Regions from separate parts of the Homo sapiens genome. Here all the other regions are linked to region 3. Evidence: promoter capture Hi-C in human tissues and cell types (Jung and others, 2019). All regions are on one chromosome and are shown on one strand. Each heading gives the region's core, a stretch centred on a gene start or on the middle of the fragment in contact. The rest is flanking DNA. Distances are from core to core; before and after follow the strand shown. Region 1 overlaps RNF121 (ring finger protein 121). Region 2 overlaps RNF121 (ring finger protein 121). Region 3 holds the start of IL18BP (interleukin 18 binding protein).

Region 1 (4,062 bases), core at 807-3,306, 55 kb after region 3:
TACTCAGACACTGAGTAATTCTCTCTTAATTCTCTCTTGAACAAACAGTGGGGATGATATTGCAGAAGAATCCAGAGGAACTGGGAAAGCCATCTGATACAGCCAACGGCTACTAAGTTTAAAAGTGACTCCTTTTGGCACAGTGGCCATGTGAAAAAAATTAAAAATCTTAAAAATAAATAAATAAAAGTGAATCTTGGCCAGACATGTTGGCTCATGCCTGTAATCTCAACACTTTGGGAGCCCGAGGCAGGAGGATCACTTGAGGCCAGGAGTTGGGAGACCCAGCTGGGTAACATAGCAAGACTCCATCTCTACAAAAAATTTAAAAATTAGCCAAGTGTGGTGGCACACACCTGTAGTCCCAGCTACTCAGGAGGCTGAGGCAGGAGGATCACTTGAGCCCAGGAGGTTCAGACTGCAGTGAGCCATGATCACACCACTGCACTCCAGCCTGGGTGACAGAAGACCCTGTCTCAAAAAAAAAAACAACAAAAAAGTGACTCTTCCTTGTAAGAGAAATACTAACATAATCCTACTTGATCTTTAATAGCCAGCAGTAAATACTTTCCAAACTTAACACAGCATACAGCTAGGACTGAAGGAAGATTTAGGGAGAAGGGAAAACCAAAGTTCATGGCTGGTAGTACCAGAAGGCCTAGATCAGTGGGGTAAGAAATATATCTACTATCTTTTCCTTCCTTCCTATTACTCAGTCTACAAACTTAATCCAGGTCCTTCAACCTCATGTACTTCTCGAGTCACTGTGTCACCCAAGTTCAAATCTTCTGGTGTCCTAATGCTGCCTGTGAAAGTAAGAACTCCTTAGTAGACTACACAATGCCCTCCACAGGAGCACGGACAGTGAGCTCTTGGGACCACACAAGGCCATGACCTGACCCCTAGCTGTCTTTCCAGTTTTACCTTCCTCTGCTCCCAGCTCCTTTGGGACTTAACATATGCTCTCCTGCAGTATATATAATACACCAGAAATTATGTGCATTTTAGAATTAGATAAATTTGGAAGCCCTACTTGCCTGGATTAAGGCAAATTTTTCCTGCCCCTTAGTCCCTCCTCCATTTCTGCCCCAAGAATGATCTTTCTATAATGCACATCTGATCCATGTCATTCACCTAAGTTCCTCTTTTTTTTTGAGACAGAGTCTCGCTCTGTTGCCCAGGCAGGAGTGCAGTGGCACAATCTCGGCTCACTGCAACCTCCACCTCCTAGCTTTAAGTGATTCTCCTGCCTCAGTCTCCCGAGTGGCTGGGATTACAGGTGCATGCCACCACGCCTGGCTAATTTTTTGTATTTTTAGTAGAGACGGGGTTTCATCATGTTGCCCAAGCTGGTCTCGAACTCCTGACCTCAAGTGATCCTCCCACCTCAGCCTCCCAAAGTGCTGGGATTACAGACATGAGTTACCGTGCCCAGCCAACCTAAGTTCTTAAAGCTCTTCTACAGCTAATCATCAGCTACAGATAAAAATCCAAACTCCTCAGCACAGCATATAAGGCCTTATGTGTCATCACATCTGCCTCCCTTTCCAGTCTCCCTATTTTATCATTACTCCCCACCTTCTACTCTGAGGTTCCAGTAATACTAAACTGCATACAGTTCCCTGAAGGTGGCATTCTCTTTCTCACCTCCCACCTTGCACATGCTGCTCCTCCTGCCTAGAGGGCTCTTCTATTCTTTCTTTAGCTGGTTAATTTCTAGTCACTTTCACACTCAGCTATGGTATCACTTCTAGGGAGTCTTTTCTGATCCCTTGCCTGCCATTTTTGGTGCTCCCTGAAATCTCTGCTTCTTCATATTATAGCAATTATTACATCTGTTTACTAACTTTTCCACTACACCATGAGCAACCTGAGAGCAAGGCCTATGTCTTTGTTATCTTTCACATCTAATGCAGTACCTTGGTAAATTCACAGTATGTGACCAATCAATAAACAAGTGAACAGGATTCTCCCAACATACACGAGGCTGGCGTAACAAATGCCTTTATTATTTTAAAGCTGACAGCATTACCTTATTGACTTGTCACAGATAACAGCTGCATGGCAGAGCTAGGATAAAAAGCCAGATCTTCAGAGTCCCAGAACAACGTCCAAACCTCTCCCTGAGCTATAAGCTCGTATTTCCAACTGCCTAATTAACATGGCACCTAATGGTACCATGGTGATGCCATTTACTCAAGTCAAAGCAAAAAATTCAAAAAAATATAAAAGCAAGCTTGATTATTTTCTTTCCCTTACATCACATATCCAATCCACCAGCAAGTCCTGTAGGCTCTATTTCAAAACATATTCTAAATTTATCCACTTTTCTCCATCGTCTCTGCTATCCCTGCTATGGTCTGAATGTTTGTGTTCCCCAAAATTAGTACGTTGAAACCTAACCTCCAATGCAATAGTATTAAGAAGAGGTGGAGGGAACCTTTAGGAGGTGATTAGGTTGTGAAGGTGGAGACCTCATGAATGGGATTAGTGCCCTTACAAAAGTGGCTTTAGGGAGGCTGTGTGTCCCTTCTGCCATGTGAAGACACAGCAACAAGGAGCCCCCTTTGAAGCACAGAGCCTTTGCCAGACATCATATCTGCTAGAACTTTGCCTTTAGACTTCCCAGCCTCCAGAACTGTGAGAAATATATACATATATATGTGTGTGTGTGTGTGTGTGTACATATATATATCTATATATATATATATATACAGATATATAGATTTTTTTTTTGGAGACAGAGTCTCGCTGGAGTGCAGTGGCACGATCTTGGCTCACTGCAACCTCCGCCTCCCAGGTTCAAGCGATTCTCCTGCCTCAGCCTCCAGAGTAGCCGGGATTACTGGCACCTGCCACCATGCCCAGCTAATTTTTTATATTTTTAGTAGAAACGGGGTTTCACCATGTTGGCCTGGCTAGTCTCAAACTCCTAGTCTCAAGTAATCCGCCCGCCTCAGCCTCCCAAAGTCCTGGGATTACAGGCGTGAGCCACTGTGCCCGGCTAAATTTCTGTTGTTTATAAATTACCCAGTCTAAGGTATTTTACTATAGCAGCCCAAAAGGACTAAAACACCCCCCACCGAATCCAAAACACTATCATCTCCCATATGGACTATTACCATAACTTCCTAACCCTCTCACTGAGTCACCTCCTACAATCCATTCTTCTCAAAGCAGCCAGAAAGATCTTTTAAAAAATGAAAATCAGCTCACATCACTCCCATTTTGAAACCCAATCAAAATCTTTTCATTGCCGGGCACGGTGGTTCATGCCTGTAATCCCAGCACTTTGGGAGGTCGAGGCAGATGGATTATTAGGTCAGGAGATTGAGACCATCCTGGCTAACATGGTGAAACCCCGTCTCTAATAAAAAATACAAAAAAATAGCTGGGCGTGGTGGCAGGCACCTGTAGTCCCAGCTACTCGGGAGGCTGAGGCAGGAGAATGGCACGAACCCAGGAGGCGGAGCTTGCAGCGAGCCAAGATCGCGCTACTGCACTCCAGCCTGGGCAACAGAGCAAGACTCCGTCTCAAAAAAAAAAAAAAAAAAAATTCTCATTACACGCTCAATAAAATTCAACATGTATCACAGCAGCTACAAGGCCTTATAAATCTGACCTTGCCAGACTCCCTGACCTCATACAGAACCATTTTTCCTTTGCTAATTATGATCTGTCACACTGGCTTTCTTTTTGGTCCCAGGACATGCCTTGTTCATTCCCATTAATTTGTACTTGCTTCTCCCTCCACTTGGAACATATCTGCTTCCAAATCTCGAAATTGCTAGGTCTTCACCATTCAGGACTTGGTTCAAGTAGCATTTCCTCAGAGGCTTTCCATAATCACCCTATTTAAAGTAGCCTTTCTCTTCTAGTCATCTTTATCACATTACATTACTTTTCTCAAAGCATTTGTCACCATCTGGAGTTATCCTGTTTATTTGTTATCTACTTTACCACATTAGAAACTAAACCTAATATGAGCAAGGACCTCAGTTGTCTTGTTCACTGCTGAATTACTGGGACCTAGAAAAATGTTTGACACTGAAGTCACAAGTA
Region 2 (4,448 bases), core at 1,511-4,010, 39 kb after region 3:
AGTTACCACATGACTCAGCAATTCCACTCCTAGGTAGATTTCTTTTCTTATTTTCTAAAGATATGAGTTTAAGTTTCTCAGTGTAAGATGTGCTATCATGTTAGCATATCCTCTCACCAATAAAATTCAGCATTATGTTTACAGGATGTGGTAGTAACAAGTAAACTGCACATTCCTAGTACAACTGGCCTCATTAAGTCACAGACACATCTCCTGTTAAGAATTAACTAATGAATAACACATCAGTGGTTTTCTAACAGTGCTATGATGAGTCCTAGAGATTTCAGAGGGGGAAGCAGAGGTGTTAGGGTTACCCAACCTTCATATCAAGCAGAGCAGCCTCTTAACTGTTTCCCAGATTGAGTTTTTCCTTAAGATAATGTTTAAAGAAAGGATTCCACACTTAAGGAAAAAGTTCTTATTGAAAATTACTGCAGTGCATATATGCATACTCACTTTCTTCAGAATAGGTTGTAAAAATCTGCCGGGCGCGGTGGCTCACGCCTGTAATCCCAGCACTTTGGGAGGCCGAGGCGGATCACAAGGTCAGGAGATCGAGACCATCCTGGCTAACACAGTGAAACCCCGTCTCTACTAAAAATACAAAAAAATTAGTCAGGCGTGATGGTGGGCACCTGTAGTCCCAGCTATGCGGGAAGCCGAGGCAGGAGAATGGCGTGAACCCGGGAGGCGGAGCTTGCAGTGAGCAGAGATTGCACCACTGCACTCCCGCCTGGGCGACACAGCGAGACTCTGTCTCAAAAAAAAAAAAAAAAAAATCTTTGCAGATTAGCCAAAATTATATAATTAAAAATATTTCTACATATAAGCACAGAAATGCCAAGGGGGCTTTCACTCATTTATGAGTTTACTGAATCCCCTGGCTCAAGCAATTCTCCCACCTCAGCCTCCTCAATAGGTGGGATTACAAGTGTGTGCCACCACTCCTGGCTTGTGTCTTTCCACCTAAAGTGAATTTACTATAGACAGCATATCGATAAATGAGGGGATTTTTAAAACCAATCTGCCAATTTCTGTCTTCTAATGGAAGAATTTAATCCATTTATATTTAAAGTGATTACTGGTAAGGAAGAATTAACTTCTGCCATTTTGCTATTTGTTTTCTGTGTGTCATTTTCCCCACCTAATTTCAACCATTACTGTTTTTTCTTTTTCTTTTTTTTGAGACAGAGTCTTGCTCTGTCTCCAGGCTGGAGTGCAATGGCACGATCACGACTCACTGCAGCCTTGACCTCCCAGGCTCAAGGAATCTTCCCACCTCTCAGCCTCCCCAGTAGCTGAGACTATAGGCGCATGCCACCACGCCTGGCTAATTTCTCTATTTTTTGTAGATATAGGGTTTTGCCATGTTGCCCAGGCTAGTCTTGAACTCCTGAGCTGAAGCCATCTGCCCACCTCAATCTCCCAAAGTACTAGGATTACAAACATGAGCCACCACACCCGATCCTTCTTTAAAAAAATTTAGATTAGTGTAATCTAGATCCTGTAAGATTCATGAGATGCTTAGTTTTCCCAGTCAATTCATCTTTGCTCTCTCCAATTGAATAGTTCCTGATGATTATCTCCTTCATGAACCTGTCCCACAATGTTTCGAAGGGAAAACCTATCTTTTCTGCCTATGAACATAGTCTTATGTTCTATCCTTTTCACCCTCTGAATCACCTGACCCTTAGACACACACTCGCCAATACACTATTCATCATTCATACATAAAGTTCATTGTTATTGTCTTTCTCCACCTCCATGTGGCCTGGGTTAGGCTGGGACCTAGAATACTTAGGAAGGGTCTCTTGATGACTGACAGACAAAGAAGTAAGAGGCAAAGTGGCTTACATTGTAGGAGCGTGGGTGCCTCTGCTTCCACTGCACCAGGAGCAGCTGGGCCACCACCAAGGTTGCGATGAGGATGAGGACCATTTCAGCATGCATAGCTTCATGGCCACGGTGCTTGGCATGCATGCGTGCGTGCTCGACCCTGAAAGCCAAACACATGGGGTGAATCAAGTCAGGGATGCTGTAGTGATAAAGGGACAGTGCTTTCCAGGGATATCCCACCAGTACATAGCTCAGAACACATTCCCTGCTTCATAGCTGCAGGGTACCACACAAATTAGGGGCTAGGACACACACCCTAACAGACAGGCATGTCGAGATAGAATACAGGCTCTACGGACCCCCCAGCAACCAAGCCTAGATATTGGAATTAGAGCTAAGTGGCCTGCTGCCTGCCCCCATGGAAGAAACAGCTGACACCTTTCCTGTAGCATGAAGGAGGTCCCAGGAGAAACCTGCATCATTGCCCATTTCAAGTCTATTTCAACCTGATGCTGGAACGAGAAAGTAACCCAAAGAGGTTATAGACATAAAGTCTCATACGCTTAGTCACCAATATTTATGACAGCAGTAAAGGAGTAACGCTGCAAATGTGTGCTGATTCCAGGATTAAAGTCTTGCTTTATTCATTCCACCCTCTCTGCCAGAGTCAGAAATCCTTAAGACTAGTTAAAGCCTAAAAAGTCTGGACTGCTTCAACTTTATACTAATCCAACAGTGACTTTACCCTCAGTATCCACAGGTAAACAGCCTCCTCAAAGGCTCAAGGAAGTTTAGTAACTAGAGAGTACAGCTGGAAACTTTTTATTAATCTAAGGCTGGCATTCGCTGGTCTTAAAGACTGGCAGCAAGTGATTCCCTTGGCTAATACTGGCTAAAAACTTGTTCTAAGAACAGTCACTCCTACCACTCTGGGTCACAGTCATCCAAAGGAGAGGAATGAGAAAGGAATTAGAGGCCGGGCGCGGTGGCTCACACCTGTAATCCCAGCACTTTGAGAGGCTGAGGCCGGAGGATCACGTGAGGTCAGGAGTTAACGATGAGCCTGGCCAACATGGCGAAACCCCGTCTCTACTAAAAATACAAAAATTAGCCGGGTGTGGTGGTGCATGCCTGTGATCCCAGCTACTCAGGAGGCTGAGGCAGGAGAATCACTTGAACCTGGGAGGTGGAGGTTGCAGTCAGCCAAGATCGCAACACTGCACTCCGTCCTGGGCGACAGAATGAGATTCCATCTCAAAAAAAAAAAAAAAAGAAGAAGAGAGAGAGAAGAGAAGGAATTAGAGAGAAAATCAAATACATCAGAATGTGTGGGAAAGGGCAAATTTAAATAAATAATAAAATCAAATACAAATGTAACTTGAGTCATAAGCTTTTATACAATTCCCATTACACCAGGGTATTTAGGAGGGAGGAAAAGGACAACATAAATAGTGTCTTCATGGAATTTCCATGGGCAATTAAACATTAACAGCAAAAATAACCCAGAAGGATGAATTATAAACAATAAAGCAAATATAACAAAAAGTGTAGAACCCAGGTGGTAAGTATAAAGGTGTTCACTGTACAATTCTTTCAACTTTTCTATGTGTTTAAAGTTTTTCATAACAAAATGTAAGGGGGGAAAACTTGGTGGGCAGAGTGGGAAGCCAAATGCCAGTCAGTAAGCCTCAGCACCTAAGGGTTCATCTGACATAAAACTTTACCCTGGGTGGGAGAATCTGACAGAAAGAGAATAGGATTGGGAGTTCGAAACTTAGATTCAGACCCACCTATATGGCCATGGCCAATTAACCTCACATCTGTATATCACAATTTCTTCATCTGTCAAAAGGAGTCCATATTTTTTCTGCCTGACTCAAGAGTTGTTGTGAGAATAGGCTAAGAGGGTAGAGCACACTTAAAAACACCTAAGGGCTATGAGGAGTTATAAAGATAGCAAGAGATAAGTTTCTTGTTCTCAGACAACATATCAGTGAACGGATGTGCACAAAATGAAGTCAAAGAATGATCTAGAAAAGACCAGAGAAGTCATCCAGTTCAAGTTCCCACCCAATGCAAAAATCATTTTTGCAATCTTTGCTTGAATACTTCCACTGGCTGAGAACACATGCCTTTTAAGGTAATCTATTTTAGAACCAGCAGTGTCTGGCACATTGTAGGTACATATACATATATTATTTTTTTGGAGAGAGTCTCGCTCTGTCATCCAGGCTAGATGAACTGCAGCCTCGAACTGCTGGGCTCAAGGGATCCTCCTACCTTGGCCTCCCAAAGTGCTGGGATTACAGGTGGGAGCTACCACACCTGGGCAGGTACTAATATTTGCTTATAAATGAATAAAATCCCAATGTTTTAGGGACAGAAAGCTCATTACCTCTCAATATACCTTGACTATTAAAGACAGTTCTGACAATGAGACAAAAAAAAAATCTATCTTCTTATAGCTTCAGTCCATTAGACCTAATCCGATACTCCATAACAACAAAGGACATATTGACTCTTCTTTCCCAATGCCACCCCTTCAAAGATTTATCATGATGTTATTCAAACAAAACAAAACCATCCTGTTCCTACCACTATTTTCCTGTGCC
Region 3 (3,937 bases), core at 1,142-3,641:
CTGGGAGGTGCTCAATGAAGGAACCATTGCCCAGCCAGTAGAGGATGCTGAAGTTGGGGAAGCGGCTGCAGGCCACACAGGATAAGCTCAGCGTTCCATCTAGGGACACAGGCAGCAGTTAGCTCTTCAGAAGAGCAGGCCCTTCCCCTACCCTGCTCTGCTGTGCCCTCCCTGCCAGCTCCCCCCAGTCCCCATGCATCTGGAACCTAGAGAACTGCTCTGCACACCACCTAGGTGGGAACGTCCGTTACAGAAGTGCAGTTGTCTCCGAGAGGCCCTAGCCCTAAACACGGGGAATGTGAGGAATGGTCCTTGGTTCACGTGATGAATCCTCTTCTGAACCTGTCTCCTCAGGATGACCTTTTCTAGTGCCCAGCCTCGGTGACTTGGGAGCCCAGGTGACAAAGGCAGTGCTGGATGGCTGCTGCTCCTCTGAGATGGCCAGAGGCCAGCAGGCTCTGGGTGGAGGGGCTGGCCTTGGGGTCCACTGCAACCAAGGCTCTGGGAGGTCCTGTGACCATTACTTATGTCTTGAGTTCTCTGTCCTATTTGATAGGGAGCATCTTGGGAGCTGCGCCAAGCCTGCACCCATGACACTGGGTTGGGGAGGGAGAATGGTGCGTGCTCAGCCCAGCTGGCTCAGCTGGTGGTACATGGGCAGAAGGGGACTGGCGCTCAGGAGTCAACCCGACCCTGGGAACCTCTGTGCCCATAGCCCACCCTCCACCACTGTGCTTCTTACTCAGTGGCACTTCCACCTCTGGCCAGGTCACTTCCAATGCTGGACACTGCTTAGCTGCTGGGAACACTGGGGGCTGGGAGGGGCAGGGGTCCTTTGTGCTTCTAACTGAGGCAGTGGCAGCTGTGGTGGTCTGCGAGACAGGTGTGGCTCTGACCAGGAGAGTGACGACGTGGGCACACAGGAGCAGGACCCACAAAGGGCTGAGGTCTGAGGAAAGGACAGTTACAGGTCAGCGGCTCTGGAGACAGAGTGGGCTGCCCGGGTAAGGATGTAACTCCAGCCCAGAGATGTCTGGGTTCTAGCCAGGGAATCAGAGCGGGAAGAGGGACCCCTCAGCACCCACCCCTTAGCCCTTTATTGAACAGAGTACAGAGAAGCTTTAGACTGGAGCCAGAGCTACAATATCTGCCCAGGTTCTTAAAGCAACAGCACCAGGTGCGCTGGGTGGTTTGCCTTGGAGTGAAGGCTCCGGGTTAGCCCATTGCTCCATTCTGTTCATAGACCTCACCCTACCCCGCCTGCCCATGCGTAGCCCCAAGGCCTACCTGGTGTCCAGTTGTGTCTCATGGTCATGATGCATGCGTCAGGAGCTGGTGAGCCTGGCTCTTTATCTGTGACAACGTCCTCTTCTCTGGTGAAAGGTGGGGGAGGAGAATGGTAAACCACTCCCGCTTTTTCTCAGTAGCTGGCTTTTCCTCAGTAGCTGGCTTCTCCTCCCGTAGCATAGCCTGGAGCTCTTTCAGCACTTAGAAACAGAGCTGGGGGGGTCAAGTGACAATCCTTCCCCACCCCAGCTCTCATGACCACAAATGGTTGTAAGATGCTTACCTAGTCCAATCTTACCCCTTCATTAGGGAAGGCAAAATTGAGACCCAAAGAGAGAATATGGACTCACCCAGTCACACAGGGAGGCAGTGCTCTCTTCAGCACCAGAGCTGCTTCTGGGAAGGGCAGGATGCCGAGCAATCCTTCTGGGAAAGCACTGCCCCGACCCTCTATTTCACTTTCACTTTTTAACCAGGGAATCTTGAGCAGCTGTGACACCTCTGCTTTAGCCAAAGTTCAGTGGCCAGAAACCTTCAGCTCCTGGGACTCCTACTCTCCAGAGGATACCAGACTGGGATCTCTAATCTACCCCCATGCCACCCCCAGGGTCACCTAGGGTATGAACTAGATGAGTCTCTCACAGATCAATTCTGTCCCGCCCAAGTGTCAGGACTTTGGTGTCCGCCTCCCCTCTTCACAGCCAGGTCTTTGTTTCCATATGAACAGGCATCTGCTTCCTCCTTCACCTTCACACTGACATTCAAGGGGACAACTTTCCTAGGCACTGGGGAACCCCAAGTTGGACCACTTCAGGCTCAATGCCATACCAGTCCGTCCACATCCTGGCCTTTCCCAGGCTACCCACTCCCCCAGCCACCAGCCCCAAGGTCGGCTACATCTCCCAGCACCCACCATCACACCCTCTGTCTCTCATCCTAGCCCCTCTGGCCAGAGCCACAGGTCTAGGTTCACTAGTAGTCCCAGACTCCTACCTGGCTCCTAAGAGGTCCTGAAGAGCCTTCCTTTCCAGAAGCTTCCCTCTAGGAGCTCCAAGACTCAAGTTAGCTGTGTCTAGCTGCGTGTGAACCCACCACAGGAAATACACCGAGAGCACTTCCTCCTTGTCTGTAGAACTCTCACGGCCAACCCAGGAACTGGCACACAAGCTCGAGAGCCAACCCTAACAGGAGGGAAGGGCAGGCACTTCCCGGGGAAGAGGCGGACTGGCTCAACACTGGCTCTGGCAACAGAGTCTACATCAGAATATGAATCTTGTCACTGATGGGACAAATGGCGCTGGGGCTGCGGGAGGGCCAGGATTCAGGGTGAGGCGTGTGAGGAACCTAGGATGCTAAATCTAAGGAGGTTTTCTCTCAGGGTCATGCAGTTATCCATGGAGGCAGAAAGACCAGGGCTGGGTGATCCAATGCATGCATATATTAAGTGTGGACAGGAGCTGCATGTCTGAGGTTTGTGACTCCTGTGATTGGGAGGGTGCAACGGCTGGTGACAGAGCCAGGGAGGCCCACAGATGGAACTGGGTTTGGTGGATGCATCAGGAACACAGTCAGCTGTGATCTCAAACTTCTTGTAGAAAAACCAGATTCATATTCCTAATTTAGACATAGGATACTACAAGTCACATCCTTCTTCTCTAGGTGTCTAGTTCATGTTTTTCCTCCTCTCAATTCCTCCCCCTACCTCCTGCCCCAGGGGCTTCTAGCATGTAAGATGCAGGAGAAATTCCTCCCAAGAACACCAGCATCTCCAGGAGTTAGGTCAGGAGGCAAGGCTGCCTGGGGTTTCTGAGAGAGACAGTCCAGTGGGGGATGGTAGGGAAAGATGACAGGACTCTGTCTTAGTGGAACCGAGACCAGAGTCAGGCCAAGGGGGGAGGTCAAGGGACTCAGAACTGTTACACATGAAAAGAGCTTTGGACAGCCTGGCCTCGGCTTCTCACCTGAGCCTGACAGGGGGGTGGGGGGAAAAAGTAAAAGGAAGGGTGATCCCTAGGTCCTCTGACCAGCCCCATTCCCCTCTCTGAGGAGGGGAACAGCCCCACAGGTGGCATAAGCAGCAGGGTACCATGGGAAGCCACAGCTGGGGAAGAGAAGCCGAGCCTGAGTGTGGTCCTCAGGAAGGCAGGTGGTGGCGGGACACTGTCCTCAGGCAGTGAGAACATAGAGCAACCTCAGTCTGAAGGCAGGCCCAATGATGCCCCAGGCCCCCAGGCCACAGGACAGGAGCCTGGCATTCCACCACTCCTAGGGATGTCAGCAGGGGAACAGCTGGGAACAGCAGAAAGGCAGGCCCAACCACCCCCAGACCCTCAGGTCTCCGATGGGGGTTAACAAAGGCAAGACACCCCTGGGGACCCCAGGGAAAGAGGTGGGAAGAAGAAAGCAAGATAAATGTTCAGCTTTCCAACCCAGCTCATGGAGCTTTATTCAGACGGGAGTGACAACATCCTGCTTCGTTCTTGCTGCCCTTGAAGGGGCAGGCCCTACTGAGCCATATTCCCTAGAAACCCAATGCCGAAGGCCCATGTTTGACCTCCCACTTTATTCAAGTCGCCTAGGACTAGGGCTGGGGCCTTCCTAGAAGCCCCCTCTCAGAACCTGTTCTCACCCACCCACCACTCCCGTTGTC

What was found. Contacts are between HindIII fragments. The study calls those that stand out against the background at their distance.
Region 1: a contact is called between a fragment that was not itself captured here and the fragment with the promoter of IL18BP in region 3, in 1 of the 25 tissues and cell types used here (mesendoderm cells).
Region 2: a fragment that was not itself captured here is called in contact with the fragment with the promoter of IL18BP in region 3 in 2 of the 25 tissues and cell types used here (bladder and lymphoblastoid cells).

Annotation. Positions count from the first base shown.
Region 1 is chr11:71,941,425-71,945,486 of GRCh38, reverse strand. The region is part of intron 1 of RNF121 (ring finger protein 121); the gene reads right to left. Among named protein-coding and RNA genes, the nearest start is that of RNF121, 14 kb to the right of the region's middle. The HindIII fragment of the contact is 4,929 bases long and covers 1-4,062 here.
Region 2 is chr11:71,958,298-71,962,745 of GRCh38, reverse strand. RNF121 (ring finger protein 121) reads right to left here. Exons shown (of 9, transcript NM_018320.5): 3 at 1,855-1,996. Among named protein-coding and RNA genes, the nearest start is that of RNF121, 31 kb to the right of the region's middle. RefSeq lists an enhancer at 1-10. The HindIII fragment of the contact is 5,197 bases long and covers 162-4,448 here.
Region 3 is chr11:71,997,363-72,001,299 of GRCh38, reverse strand. It overlaps IL18BP (interleukin 18 binding protein), which reads right to left and starts at 2,391. Exons shown (of 6, transcript NM_001039660.2): 1 at 2,281-2,391; 2 at 1,288-1,373; 3 at 743-949; 4 at 1-99. The coding sequence starts at 1,315. It overlaps RNF121 (ring finger protein 121), which reads right to left. Exons shown (of 9, transcript NM_018320.5): 9 at 3,703-3,937. The HindIII fragment of the contact is 6,503 bases long and covers 1,721-3,937 here.